3 separate regions of the Homo sapiens genome follow, and regions 2 and 3 are each linked to region 1. Evidence: promoter capture Hi-C in 16 types of primary human blood cells and fetal thymus (Javierre and others, 2016). All regions are on one chromosome and are shown on one strand. The core of a region is centred on a gene start or on the middle of the fragment in contact, and the rest is flanking DNA. Distances in the headings are between cores, read along the strand shown.

Region 1 (4,148 bases), core at 1-2,500:
GATCGGCGGGGCCTACGGGCTCTTCCTGCCTGGCACCCCACCCAGCTCCTCCTCCTTGCCTGCAATCTCTACCCCTACCCAGCTGGTGCTCCAGTGCGGCCACCTGATTATCTGCATTTTCCTTTCAAAATAATTCCATTTGGGGCCCCAAAGCAATCTATGTTCACTGTAGCAAATCCTGAAAACAGAGAAAAGCACAAAGAAGAAAACAGAGAAAAGCACAAAGGGGAAAACAGACGTTTTCCGTTTTTCCCCCAATGATTTGCAGCAATCTGCGGCAGTTTTCAGCCTCTGCAGGTTCCCAAACGTGACTTGGCTCCTGCTCTTTTCCCTTTGGTGTTAGCATCTGTTCCGGCACGGTTGAGGGATTCTTCAGACTCCGCCAGCTTTGCCTCTTTTGTAGCCAAACATTTATTGAGCACTTACTGCATACTGGGTACTACATGAGGCCACAGGGACCCAAAGGTCTCAGCAAAAGCTCGTGGAGCCTTCAGGCCAGTCCAGGAGGAGGAGGCCTGACACCCTTCAGCGGGTCATTTTAAAGGCTCTTGTGCATGGACCCTGTATGACATTTTTCTTTTTCTTTTTTCCTGGAGATTCATGTGTTGGTCTTTGTTATGGCTGAGGTTTAGTTTCAGACAATTTTTCTAGGCTTTCCTGGCATTTAAGGGAGGCTGTGACTGTGTCCTCTGCCACTTTTCCACACTTCGTCCCCCAAAATATCTCAAGAAAAGTCAAGTCACCCTTTCTCCTTTAACCCTTTAGTAGATTTGGACGTGCTGCCTCCACCCAGCATGGTGACGTCATAACCTGGGGCTCCCATCTGCCCCTTTCTACACTTGGCATGAGGTCGCCTGACTCTCACCCCTCATGGGCAGAGGCAGGGCAGCTGCAGGGTGGGAGGGACAGTTCTGGCCCTGAAAGGGGCCTTCAATGGAAAGTTGTCTTCCCTGCTCAGCCCCATTCCTGCTGCTCTCTTCAGAGCTGTAAGAACTGGGCCAAATGGTGCCCACACCTTCCAAGCCAACCTCAGATGAACTCAGGGTCAACAGGGAAGCTACTTCCCATGCTAAGCTGAGGGTTCTGTCTCTGGCAACCTGAATCATCCACTCACACAGAGGCTGAGTTAAATTAACCCCGCATTCAATGAGGGCCGGCCACCTGCACAGTCTTGTGGGGGCTGCAAAAATGCATGAGACTTGGCCTCCACCCTCACTCATGGCCCAGACTAGGGAGCAGCAGACACATGCTCAGTGTGGTCAGAGTTTACAGGGGCTTTAAGAAGAGAGAGGGGAATCCAGGAAGACTTCCTGGAGGAGATGGCAACTGAACTTGGATTTAAGGGAAGGGAAGAGATAAGGAGAGAAGGACATTCCCCACCATGGGACACAGGGCAGGGTATGGCAGAACCCAGGGGCCCCCAGAGGTGCATGGGCGGGGAACCCCAGACGGGGAGCAGCAGATTCAGGCTAGGGGGAAGGGAGCACCTTGTGGGTGCTGCTTGTTATGTGACTTGAGGAGATCCTGGATGGCAGTCTGGGTGCTGGAGCAGGATGGGGGTGCATGGGTGGGCAATGGGAGAAAAGGCAGGAAAGGCCAGTGAGGGCCCCTCTGGGGTCTTGGGCAGCACCAAGGCCAGGCACCCTGGAGAATGAAAGTCACGGTGGTCCCAAGATGGGGCTTCTGGAGGCGACTTTCGAGAACCGAATGAGGACTGGAAAGTCTGGAGACGAGGGAGCGCATTGTCCCCAGTGGAAGCGCAGGACAGTTTCCCTCAGCTGCGGTACAGGACAGAGGCCCTGGGTCACCTGTGAGTTATTTCCCCAAGGTCTCTAACCAGGCCACTGTGGTGGATGAGGGTCCAGAGAGCCTCTTCCACTACAAGCTCCACATGCCTGAGCAGGAAAAGGCCGGACCTTAATTTAACCCGGATCGTTTGCCATCAGGAGGGAGATTCTGAGATGTTCTCTTCCTTCCCTCCCTCCTGTGTTCCAGGGAGCTCTGCCCTTGTCCCCACAGCCACAGGGGAGCCACTGTCTGTCCTTTCCTCGATGAGAGGAGGTGCTCTGGGGCACAGCCGAGTCTTCTCCACCTCTGTGCACCGCCTGGCACGCAGGGACTCTCAAAAGAGGCCTGATGCACAGAGGCAGGGTCTACACATGCGTCCCTTTTAACCCGACCGTCCATTTCCATCCCGATGGGATGTGACACTGCACTCACAAGCTTGTTCGGGGGCAGGGGGGATCCTGGGTGGGGGGAGGTGGCAGGGTTTGAGGCAAGGTGCCCATGTGCACTGGTGGCCACCCTCCGTCCAAATGCCCCAGGCTCAGACCCAAGTGATAAGAACTTCAATGGTGTGGAGAGCGCCTGCGTGGGGGAGGCAAGCTGACACGCAGGCCCAGGGTTCCAGAAAGCCCCCTAGCTCCCCGAGGCCCAGTGCCCAGAAGGCCCAGCACATCTGCAGCCTCAGAGTGAGCTGTGGTCCTTCTCACCCCCAGCCTCCTCTTCACCCTTCCCCAGCTCCCCAGTGCTGGGTGGCGGGAGCGGGGTCCTGGGCTGAATTGTGGTCCCCGCAAATTCACATGTTGAAGCCCTAACCCCCCTCCCCAACACCCCCGTACCTTAGAATGTGACTCTATTTGGAGACAGGGCCTTTAGAGAGGTGACTAAGTGAAAAATGAGGTCATCAGGCTGGGCCCTAAGCCATGGTGGGTTTTTTTGGTTTGTTTTATTTTGTTTTGAGACAGAGTCTCGCTCTGTTGCTCAAACTGGAGTGCAGTGGCACTATCTCGGCTCACTGCAACCTCTGCCTCCTGGGTTCAAGCGATTCTCCTGCCTCAGCCTCCTGAGTAGCTGGGATTATAGGCGCGCACCACCACCACGCCCAGGTATTTTTGTATTTTTAGTAGAGACGAGGTTTCACCCTGTTGGTCAGGTTGGTCTCGAACTCCTGACCTCGTGATCTGCCTGCCTCAGCCTCCCAAAGTGCTGGGATTATAGGCGTGAGCCACTACGCCCAGCTGCCATGGTGTTCTTATAAGAAGATGAGCATGCGCAGAGCTACCAGGAGCACACACAGAGGGAAGACTGCAGCGGTGCAGGACAGAGGTGGCTACCCACGGCCACAGAGAGGCCTTGGAAGAAACCCACCCGCCCACACCTGGCTAGTGAGGAGGCATACTGCTGTTCTTTCACTGTGGTGCTTTGTATGTCAGCCCTAACGCACCCAGACGAGGGGCACAGGGACAGGAATGGGGAAAGGGATCCAGGCCAGGCCCCCGAAGTCTGTGCTTCTCCACCTTTAGGAAGCTGGAGAGCTCGCGAGCACCCACTTGCTCCCAGAAGAATCAGCTGATCAAAACAGAACCCCCAATCTCCCCAGAATCCAGAGGAACCCAACCTAAGCAGATGGCCCACGAGTGGAGATGCTGACCTATGGGTGGCAGTGTATTCTGCCCAGAAGGCAGGTGGGGAACCGCTGTGGGTGCCCTGACTATGAGAGCCTCCGGCCGTGGAGACACAGCCCTGCCATCTCTGTCCGATTAACAGGGGCTGAAGGGGCAAGAGAAGAGCCAGAACGTTCTCTCGCCTGAGGAGGGCACTCACAGTGTAGTGGAGAGCCCAATAAAGAACTGAACTTCCTTGAAGAGGGTCCAGAGGGGACTGGGGTGTTATGCGGGGGTGCTCAGGTGCGGGGAGCCCCACACCTCCATGCACAGTCCCACGACTCCACGCTCAACCGCGCACCTCCAGGCGCAGCCCTACCCTTCCAGGCACAGCCCTACCCCTCCAGGCGCAGCCCCCCACACCTCCACGCGCAGCCAGCCACTCTCACCTTCCCGCCTCCCGGCTGGTGCTTCAGGTTCTCAGTGGAGCCGATCTTGGACTTGACATTCTTCAGGTCTGGCATGGGCACGGGGGCTGTCTGCAGGCGGCTCTTGGCGGAAGACGGCGACTTGGGTGGAGTACGGACCACTGCCACCTTCTTGGGCTCCCGGGTGGGTGGGGTTGGAAGGGACGGGGTGCGGGAGCGGCTGCCGGGAGTGCCTGGGGAGCCGGGGCTGCTGTAGCCGCTGCGATCCCCTGATTTTGGAGGTTCACCTGGGAAGGAAGGAAGGGAGTGAAGCCAGGACTCGAGTGGGTGGGGT
Region 2 (4,148 bases), core at 1,077-3,576, 210 kb before region 1:
CAGCCAAATGTGGTGGCACATGCCTGTAATCCCAGCTACTTGGGAGGCTGAGGTGGGAGAATGGCTTGAACCCGGGAGACAGAGGTTGCAGTGAGTCGAGATGGTGCCACTGCACTCCAGCCTGGGCAACAGAGTGAGACTCTGTCTCAAAAAAACAACAACAAAAAACCCATGGAGACTATTTTGGGTCTTCATGACTACCTGACATCTGACATATCAGTTTGAGGAATTTAGTATATTTAATGATGCATTTGATTCACTATTAGAGATTTGTATGCTTATTAAGAGTAATTTAGATAGCTTTTCCCCTCTACCTTCCCCAGTAAATATCGAAGCAAATAAGAATTATATAATATCAGCTGTCTTGCTTTTTATCAATCCCACTTATCAAGTGACCCATCCAGTTTTATTTGGCATCGAGCTTTTTATGTATTTAAACTGTCTCTTAGGTGACTTTGCATTTTCTTTTTTTTTTGAGATGGAGTTTTGCTCTTGTCACTCAGGCTGGAGTGCAATCGGCGCAATCTTGGCTCACTGCAACCTCCGACTCCCGGGTTCAAGCAATTCTCCTGCCTCAGCCTCCCAAGCAGCTGAGACTGCAGGCATGCGCCATCACGCCTGGCTAATTTCTGTAGTTTTTGGTTTTTTTTTAGTTGAGATAGGATTTCACCATGTTGGCCAGGCTGGTCTCGAACTCCTGACCTCAAATGATCCGCCCCACTCGGCCTCCCAAAGTGCTGGGATTACAGGCGTGAGCCACTGCGCCCGGGCTGCATCATTTTGTTGTAAGGTTTTTTTTTTTTTTTTGAGACGGAGTCTTGCTGTGTCGCCCAGGCTGGAGTGCAGTTGCAGGATCTCGGCTTCCTGCAACCTCCGCCTCCAGGTTCCTGCACCCTCTGTCTCCGGTGGGCTGAGCTGAGGTGGGACAGACTGACGCGGAGAGGAAGGGAAGCCACCTGGCCTGAAGATCCTGTCTCTAAGATCAGGTTCTGAGGTGCTGAATGTTAGGAGTACTACATATCTTTTTTTTTTTTTTTTTTTTTGAGACAGGGTCTCCCTCTGTCATCCAGGCTAGAGTGCAGTGGCACTTGGATCACTGCAACCTCCAGCCCCCTAAACCCCAGGCTCAAGCAATCCTCCCATCTCAGCTTCCCGGGTAGCTGGGACTACAGGTGTGCACTGCCACACCTGGCTATTTTTTTATATTTTTAGTAGAGCCGGGGTCTTGCCATGTTGCCCAGGCTGATATTGAATTCCTGAGCTCAAGCGATGCTGTGGCCTTGACCTTCCAAAGTGCTGGGATTACAGGCATGTGCCACTGTGCCCAGCCCCTTGGAGTACTATATATCTCTTTTGGGGAACAAAAGTCAGCCCAGAACAGGTGTATGTCATTTATCATGGGTACAAGACCCTCAACACCTACACATAGGAAATGAAAATTTTGGTGCAAATTGATAGCATGACTTGAAGAAGTAGATTATTTCTTTAGCATCTCGTGTATTTATCTTTAACAAGATTTTTGTTTTATCTTTGAAACTTTTTTTTTTTTTGAGACGGATTTTTGCCTTTCACCCAGGTTGGAGTGCAGTGGTGTGATCTTGGCTCACTGTAACCTCCGCCTCCTAGGTTCAAGTGATTCTCCTGCCTCAGCTTCCCCAGTAGCTGGTATTACAGGCGCCTACCATCACACCTGGCTAATTTTTGTCTTTTTAGTAGAGACGGGGTTTCACCATGTTGGCCAGGCTGGTCTCAAACTCTTGACATCAGGTGATCCACCCGCCTCAGCCTCCCAAAGTGCTGGGATTAAAGGCATGAGCCACTGTACCTGGCCTTTTTGTATTTTTTGTAGAGATGGGGTTTTACCATGTTGCCCAGGCTGGTCTCAAACTCCTGAGCTCAAGCAGTCCCCGCACCTTGGCCTCCCAAAGTGTTGGGATTACAGGCCTGATCCCCTGTGCTCAACCTGATGAGATCTTTTCATGTGCTTATTGGCCATTCATATATCTTCTTTGGAGAAATGTCTATTTAAATTCTCTGCACATTTTAATTTTATTTTTATACACTATTGTTTTTTAGGCTAGGTCTTGCTCTGTCACTCTGGCTAGAGTGCAGTGGCCAATCGCAGTTTTCTTTTCTTTTTTTTTTTTTTTGGAGATGGAGTCTTGCTCTGTCACCCAGGCTGGAGTTCAGTGGCACTATCTTGGCTCACTGCAATCTCTGCCTCCTGGGTTCAAGTGATTCTCTGCCTCAGCCTCCCAAGTAGCTGGGATTAGAGGCACCCACCACCACGCCCAGCTAATTTTTGTATTTTTAGTAGAGATGGGGTTTCACCATCTTGGCCAGGTTGGTCTTGAACTCCTGACCTCATGATCCACCCGCCTTGGACTCCCAAAGTGCTAGGATTACAGGCGTGAGCCACCGCACCCGGCCCAATCATAGTTTCTGGAACTTCAAACTCCTGGACTCAAGGGTTCCTTCTGCCTCAAGCTCCTGAGTAGCTAGGACTACAGGTGTGTGCCACCATGCCTGGCTAATTGTTTTTTTTTATTATTATTAATTTATTTTGTAGAGACAGGGTCTTGCTATATTGCTCTGGCAGGTCTCAGAATCCTTGCCTCAAGGGATCCTCTCCTTCTGGTGTGAGCCACCATGCTCAGCCTTTGCCCATTTTAAAATTGGATTCTCTTTTTATTGTTGAGTTGTAAGAGTTCTTTAAATATACTAGATACAAATCCCTTGTGAGATACATGATTTGCAAATATTTTCTCCCATCTATGGGTTGTGTTTTCAATTTCTTGATGGTGTCCTTTAATGTACAAAATGTTATAATTCTGATGAAGCCAAATTTACTTGTTTTTTCCTTTGTTGCATGTGGTTTTGATGTCAGGCCACCAAATGAAATGAAGATTAGCTTTGTTTTCTTCTAGGAATTTTATTGTTTTAGCTGTTACATTTAGGTCTATAATCCGTGTTTAAATTTAATTAGAATTAATTTTTGTGTATGGTGTGAGATATAGTGGTCCAGCTTCATTCTACTGCATGTGAATATTCAGTTGTCCCAGCATGGTTTGTTGAAAAGACCATTGTTTGTTTCTTGTAGAGATGGGGGTCTTGCTTTGTTGCCCTGGCTAGTCTCAAACTCCTGGCCTCAAGCAATCCTCCTGTCTCAGCCTCCCCAAATGCTGGGATTATAGGTGTCAGCTACAGCACTTGGCTTAAAAAGACCATTCTTTCCTCCACTGAATTGTCTTGGCATTTTTGTCATAAAATCAATTGACTGTCAGTGTAAAGGTTTATTTCTGAACCCACACTTATATTCCATTGATCTGTATGTTTATCCTTATGCCACTACCACACTGTCTTGATTTCCATAGCTTTGAATTATGTTTTCAAATCAGGAAGTGTGAGTCCCCCAACTTTGTTTTTCCTATTCAAATTTCTTTTGGGTATGCTGGGATCACATTGATTCTGTAGATCAATTTAGGGAATATTGCCATTTTAACAGAGTTGTATCTTCTGATCCATTCTCATCCATGAACATGGGATATCTTTCCTTTTTTTTTTTTTTTTTTTTTTGGGGGACACAGTCTTGTTCTGTCATCCAGGCTGCAGTGAAGTACAGTAATGCAATCATGGCTCACTGCAGCTGTAACCTACTAGGCTCAAGTGATCTTCCCTCCTCAGCCCCCCAAGCAGCTAGGATTACAGGTGCATGCCACCACATCTAGCTCATTTTTGTATTTTTGTAGAGATGAGTTCTTGCCATGTTGCCTAGTCTGATCCTGAACTTCTGCGCTCAAGCAGCCCACCCACTTCAGTCTACCAAAGTGCTGGGATTACAGGTGTGAGCCATCACACCTGGCCTTTCCATTTAGTTAGGATTTCTGTAACTTCTTTTGTAATTTTTATATATCTCAGAGTATAAGATTGTCACTGCTTTTGTTAAATTTATTTCTAAGTCTTTTTTTTTTTTTTTTTTGAGACAGTGTCTCATTCTGTCACCTAGGCTAAAGTACAGTGGTGTGATCTCGGCTCATTGCAACCTCCGCCTCCTGGGTTCAAGTGATTCCACTGCCTCAGCCTCCTGAGTAGCTGGGATTACAGGCACCTGCCACCACACCCAACTAATTTTTATATTTTAGTAGAGA
Region 3 (4,148 bases), core at 1,132-3,631, 180 kb before region 1:
TAAAATCTTACACTTGAGGGCAACCCCCACGAGGCCTTTTTGACTTCTCTAGTCCAGTCATTTAGGGCTTACAGCACTTACTATGTACCAAGCTCTCGATAAAGTTAGCACGCTAAAGAAGGGTGCTGTTAAGGAATTTTGCTTGTCTTGGAAATAGAATTAGTTAACAATTAGGGAAAATTCAGATAATTTGAACTGAATGACAGTGACTTTAAGTGCATTATACAATTCAAGCAGGAAGAAAGTGATATGAATTGGAAGAGTCTAAGAAGTTTTTGTGGAGATGCTATGTATTGAAAAATTAGTAAGTTTGGGGACAAAAAAAAAAAGTAGAAGAAGGACCTTCCAGGTAGAGGTAGCAACATAGGCAAAGATACGGAGTTGGGAATCTGTGGGGAGTTCTGGGTCCGTATCAATTGATGTGCTTGCCCTGACGTTAAGTTTCATCTTGAAGAATTTGAACTCATTAAAAAGGTGTGAGGGGCTGGGTGTGGTGGCTCATGCCTGTAATTCCAGCACTTTGGGAGGCCGAGGCGGGTCGATCACCTGAGGTCAGGAGTTCGAAACCAGCCTGGCCAACGTGGTGAAACCCCATCTCTACTAAAATTACAAAAAAATTAGCTGGCTGTGGTGGCAGGCACCGGTAATCCCAGCTGCTCGGGAGGTTGTGGTAGGAGAATCGTTTGAACCTGGGAGGCGGAGGTTGCAGTGAGCGGAGATCGCGCCATCGCACTCCAGCCTGGGGGACAAGAGCGAGACTTTGTCTCAAAAAAAAAAAAAGTGTGAGGAACTTGTTCAGAGTAGGAAAGTGAGATGATAAAAAGGTAAAGGATAGTTTGGGGCACTGAGGCACTAGTCAGGAAGCTGTTGTGATAATCTAGACAGGAGCTGATGAGGACCTGGGCTAGACTGATAGTGTTAGAAGTATAGAGAGGACATACCAAACCTGAAAAGCTTCGTGAGAAAAGAAGGATTTCGTCACAAAGGAGATGAAATTATGAAGGAAAAGAGAGCTTTCTTTCCATTCTTTATAAGCCATCATGTTTTTGTTTGTCATATATTTGGCCTTTTTGTTAGACTGGCCCCTTCACATTTCTGGATTTAAGCTTTGGTAGAGACTTTGACTATTATTTTCTGGTTGAAGTTCTCATTGCATCCTATCTGGATTATTGTGGTAGCTTTTTTATTGGTCTTTGCCATCTATAGATGCCTTTTTACTTACTTTCAATCCATCCTACCCAACTGATCTCTCTAAAGCACAGTCTGATGTTTCACTCCCATTTAAAAAGTGTTTAATGATACTCTGCTGTCATTATTTTATATATACATATACATATATATGTGTGTGTATATATATATGTATATACTTTTTATTTTTCAGAGACTCGATCTCGCTATGTTGACCAGGCTGGTCTCAAACTCCTGGCCTCAAGCAATCCTTTTGCCTTGGCCTCCCAGAGTGCTGGGATTACATGTCTGAGCCGCTGCACCTGGCCTCTGCTGTCTTTGTTTGTTTGTTTTTGTTTTTGAGACAGAGCCTCTCTTTGTCGCCCTGGCTGAAATGCAGTGGCTCAATCTTAGCTCATTGCAGCCTCTGCCTCCTGGGTTCAAGTGATTCTCATGCCTCAGCCTCCCTAGTAGCTGGGACTACAGGCACCTGCCATCATGCCCGGCTAAATTTTTTATTTTTATTTTTATTATTTATTTCTTTTTTTGAGATGGAGTCTCACTTTTGTCACCCAGGCTGGAGTGCAATGGTGCGATCTCGGCTCACTGCAACCTCTGCCGCTCAGGTTTCAGCGATTCTCCTACCACAGCTTCCCGAGCAGCTGGGATTACAGGTGCCCGCCACCACACCCAGCTGATTTTTTTGTATTTTTATTAGAGGCGGGTTTTCACCACGTTGGCCAGGCTGGTTTCAAACTCCTGACCTCAGGTGATCCACCCGCCTCAGCCTCCCAAAGTGCGGGGATTGCAGGCGTGAGCCACTGTGCCTGGCCCCTCTACTGTCTTTAAGTCTGAATTAAGGCTATTAAAGGCTGTCCGTTAAGGATCTGGCTTCAAACTGCCTTTCCACCTTCATTCTACTATTTCCTCTATTAAAATATGCTTTGTGTTTTAAGCAAATTGTTAATTTTTTTTTTTTTTTAAGATGGAGTCTCGCTCTTGTTACCCAAGCTGGAGTGCAGTGGCCCGATCTCAGCTCACTGCAACCTCTGCCTCCTGGGTTCAAGCAATTATCCTGTCTCAGTCTTCCAAGTAGCTGGGAGTACAGGTGCGCGCCTCCACACCCGGCTAATTTTTGGTAATTTTAGTAGAGATGGGGTTTCGCCATGTTGGCCAGGCTGGTCTCCTGATCTCAGGTGATCTACCCGCCTCAGCCTCCCAAAGTCCTGGGATTATAGGCATGAGTCACTGCGCCCGGCCCAAATTGTTCATTTCTTTTAACCTTCAGAATGTCGCCTTTTCCCACACAGCGTTGCCTTTTCTTATGCCATTTCCTCTCACTAGAATGCCACATTACCATTCTCTTGTCCTAGCCTTTTGCATAATGACATTTTAGCTAATTTTCAAGTCTCAGCTAAAATTGCGGCAACTTCATGGACACTTCCCTAATCATCCTTCCTGCTGTTTCTTTCCGTCCTTTGTGTAGAGAAATGAGGTAATGGTGAAGGAAGAGGTTAGTAGAAGCCACATTATGGGCAAACTTTTCTTCCCCATCTGATTTTTGCTTTTGCTTTCAGTGCAAGTGTGGTTGTAATACTTGTTGGCCACCTGGATGACCTATTCCTTCCCCTTTGTTCTCTGCAGCTAAATATTTTTGCAAGGTGGATGCTTCCAGGTTATTCTTGTGTATCTGGAGTCTTGTCTTGGAAATTGACTGGGAATAAATGAGGTTTTCATTTGTGGGTGTGGAGTTAGTTCTGACTTACAGTATTTGAAGCAGCTGGATACGTTTTGCTTTTGAAAGAGTATATATATGTGTGTGTATAATCTTTAGGATATGGTTCTCTGTTGGGAGGTGTGATGTTGAACCCCCCAGCTCCCATATTTGACATGTCTGGAGACATTTTTGATTGTCATAATTTTCAGAAGGGCACTACTAGCATCTAGTGGGTGGAAAACAGAGATGTTGCTAAACATGCTACTGCCAGGATAGCCCCCTGTGATAGATTACTCATCGTGAGATGTCAGTTAGTGGTTAGGTTGAGAAACTCTATCCTAGAAGTATATTTTTGCTTCCCAAGTGCCACTTGTGTTAGGTAGAAGTTTGTCCTTGGACCGATGGTGCAATTTAGAATAATAGAATTAACATAGGAAGGGACCCTAGAGGTCACATATTTGAACTTTATCCCAACTTGTATTTCTCACAATGATGTTTCTGCTTGATATTAATAGATGTAATGGAAAAAGGTGCTTGTTAAAAAAGTTTGGTAAAGGTAAACATTTGCATATTCAGTATGATGCAATACGTTGTGAGTCTCCATCTGGGAAGTTTTTCCGAAATGTATTTGCTTGCTGAGTGCATTTAACATCTTCCAGACCCTAAAATACTTCTTTGAAACTGAGAGAGAAACTATTGATTATCTAGCCCAACCTTTTATAGCTAAATGACCTTGAATAGGTAGCCTTTTCTTTTATCTGTACAAGCTTACTGCAGAATCTCAATTTGTGTGAGTGACAGCAGGTGTAGCAGCTCCATCTGTATTTGTCAGATTATAGTTTACTAACTGAATGAACTAAAAATTGGGATATTTGGGGCTTGAATTTTTATTCTGAATGTACAGTCTGACTTTATCCCCACCGGTAAATTAGAAATTATAATCTCAGCCCTAATTCTACTGCCCAGGTTGTTATGAGGATTAATCAGTTAATTATAGCTTTTAAGGCTTTGTATTCTTTGGAGAAAGATGATTTATCAGATAGGCTGTTGTGCTGTTTGTGTAGAACTGCTTCCTTTTTTTGTTTTTCGTTTTTTTTTCCTTTAGCCCTGAGCTTCTCTAAGAACTGCTTAAATTTGACAGTCTTTCCCTGCTTTACATTGTCAAAGATTGAAGCTTTTTGAATTTTGTAGGGGTCAAGTGGGATAGGAATCATTGTTTTGCTCTGTATATTAAATTTAAGAATGTTACTATGGGCCGGGCGTG

What was found. The method cuts DNA at HindIII sites, captures the fragments that hold promoters and counts their contacts. A CHiCAGO score of 5 or more calls a contact.
Region 2: a fragment that was not itself captured here is called in contact with the fragment with the promoter of STH in region 1 in 17 of 17 cell types (neutrophils, M2 macrophages, naive CD8 T cells and 14 more); the score reaches 16.1 in neutrophils.
Region 3: a contact is called between a fragment that was not itself captured here and the fragment with the promoter of STH in region 1, in 2 of 17 cell types (naive CD8 T cells and total CD4 T cells). The highest score is 5.4, in naive CD8 T cells.

Annotation. Positions count from the first base shown.
Region 1 is chr17:45,996,352-46,000,499 of GRCh38, reverse strand. STH (saitohin) reads right to left here and starts at 1,250. Exons shown (of 1, transcript NM_001007532.3): 1 at 806-1,250. The coding sequence starts at 1,220. The coding sequence ends at 834. MAPT (microtubule associated protein tau) reads right to left here. Exons shown (of 13, transcript NM_001377265.1): 9 at 3,836-4,101. The HindIII fragment of the contact is 3,833 bases long and covers 1-2,225 here.
Region 2 is chr17:46,205,512-46,209,659 of GRCh38, reverse strand. It overlaps a transcript of KANSL1 not described here. Among named protein-coding and RNA genes, the nearest start is that of KANSL1-AS1, 14 kb to the right of the region's middle. The HindIII fragment of the contact is 7,277 bases long and covers 1-4,148 here.
Region 3 is chr17:46,178,066-46,182,213 of GRCh38, reverse strand. The region is part of intron 1 of KANSL1 (KAT8 regulatory NSL complex subunit 1); the gene reads left to right. Among named protein-coding and RNA genes, the nearest start is that of KANSL1, 13 kb to the left of the region's middle. The HindIII fragment of the contact is 2,545 bases long and covers 1,109-3,653 here.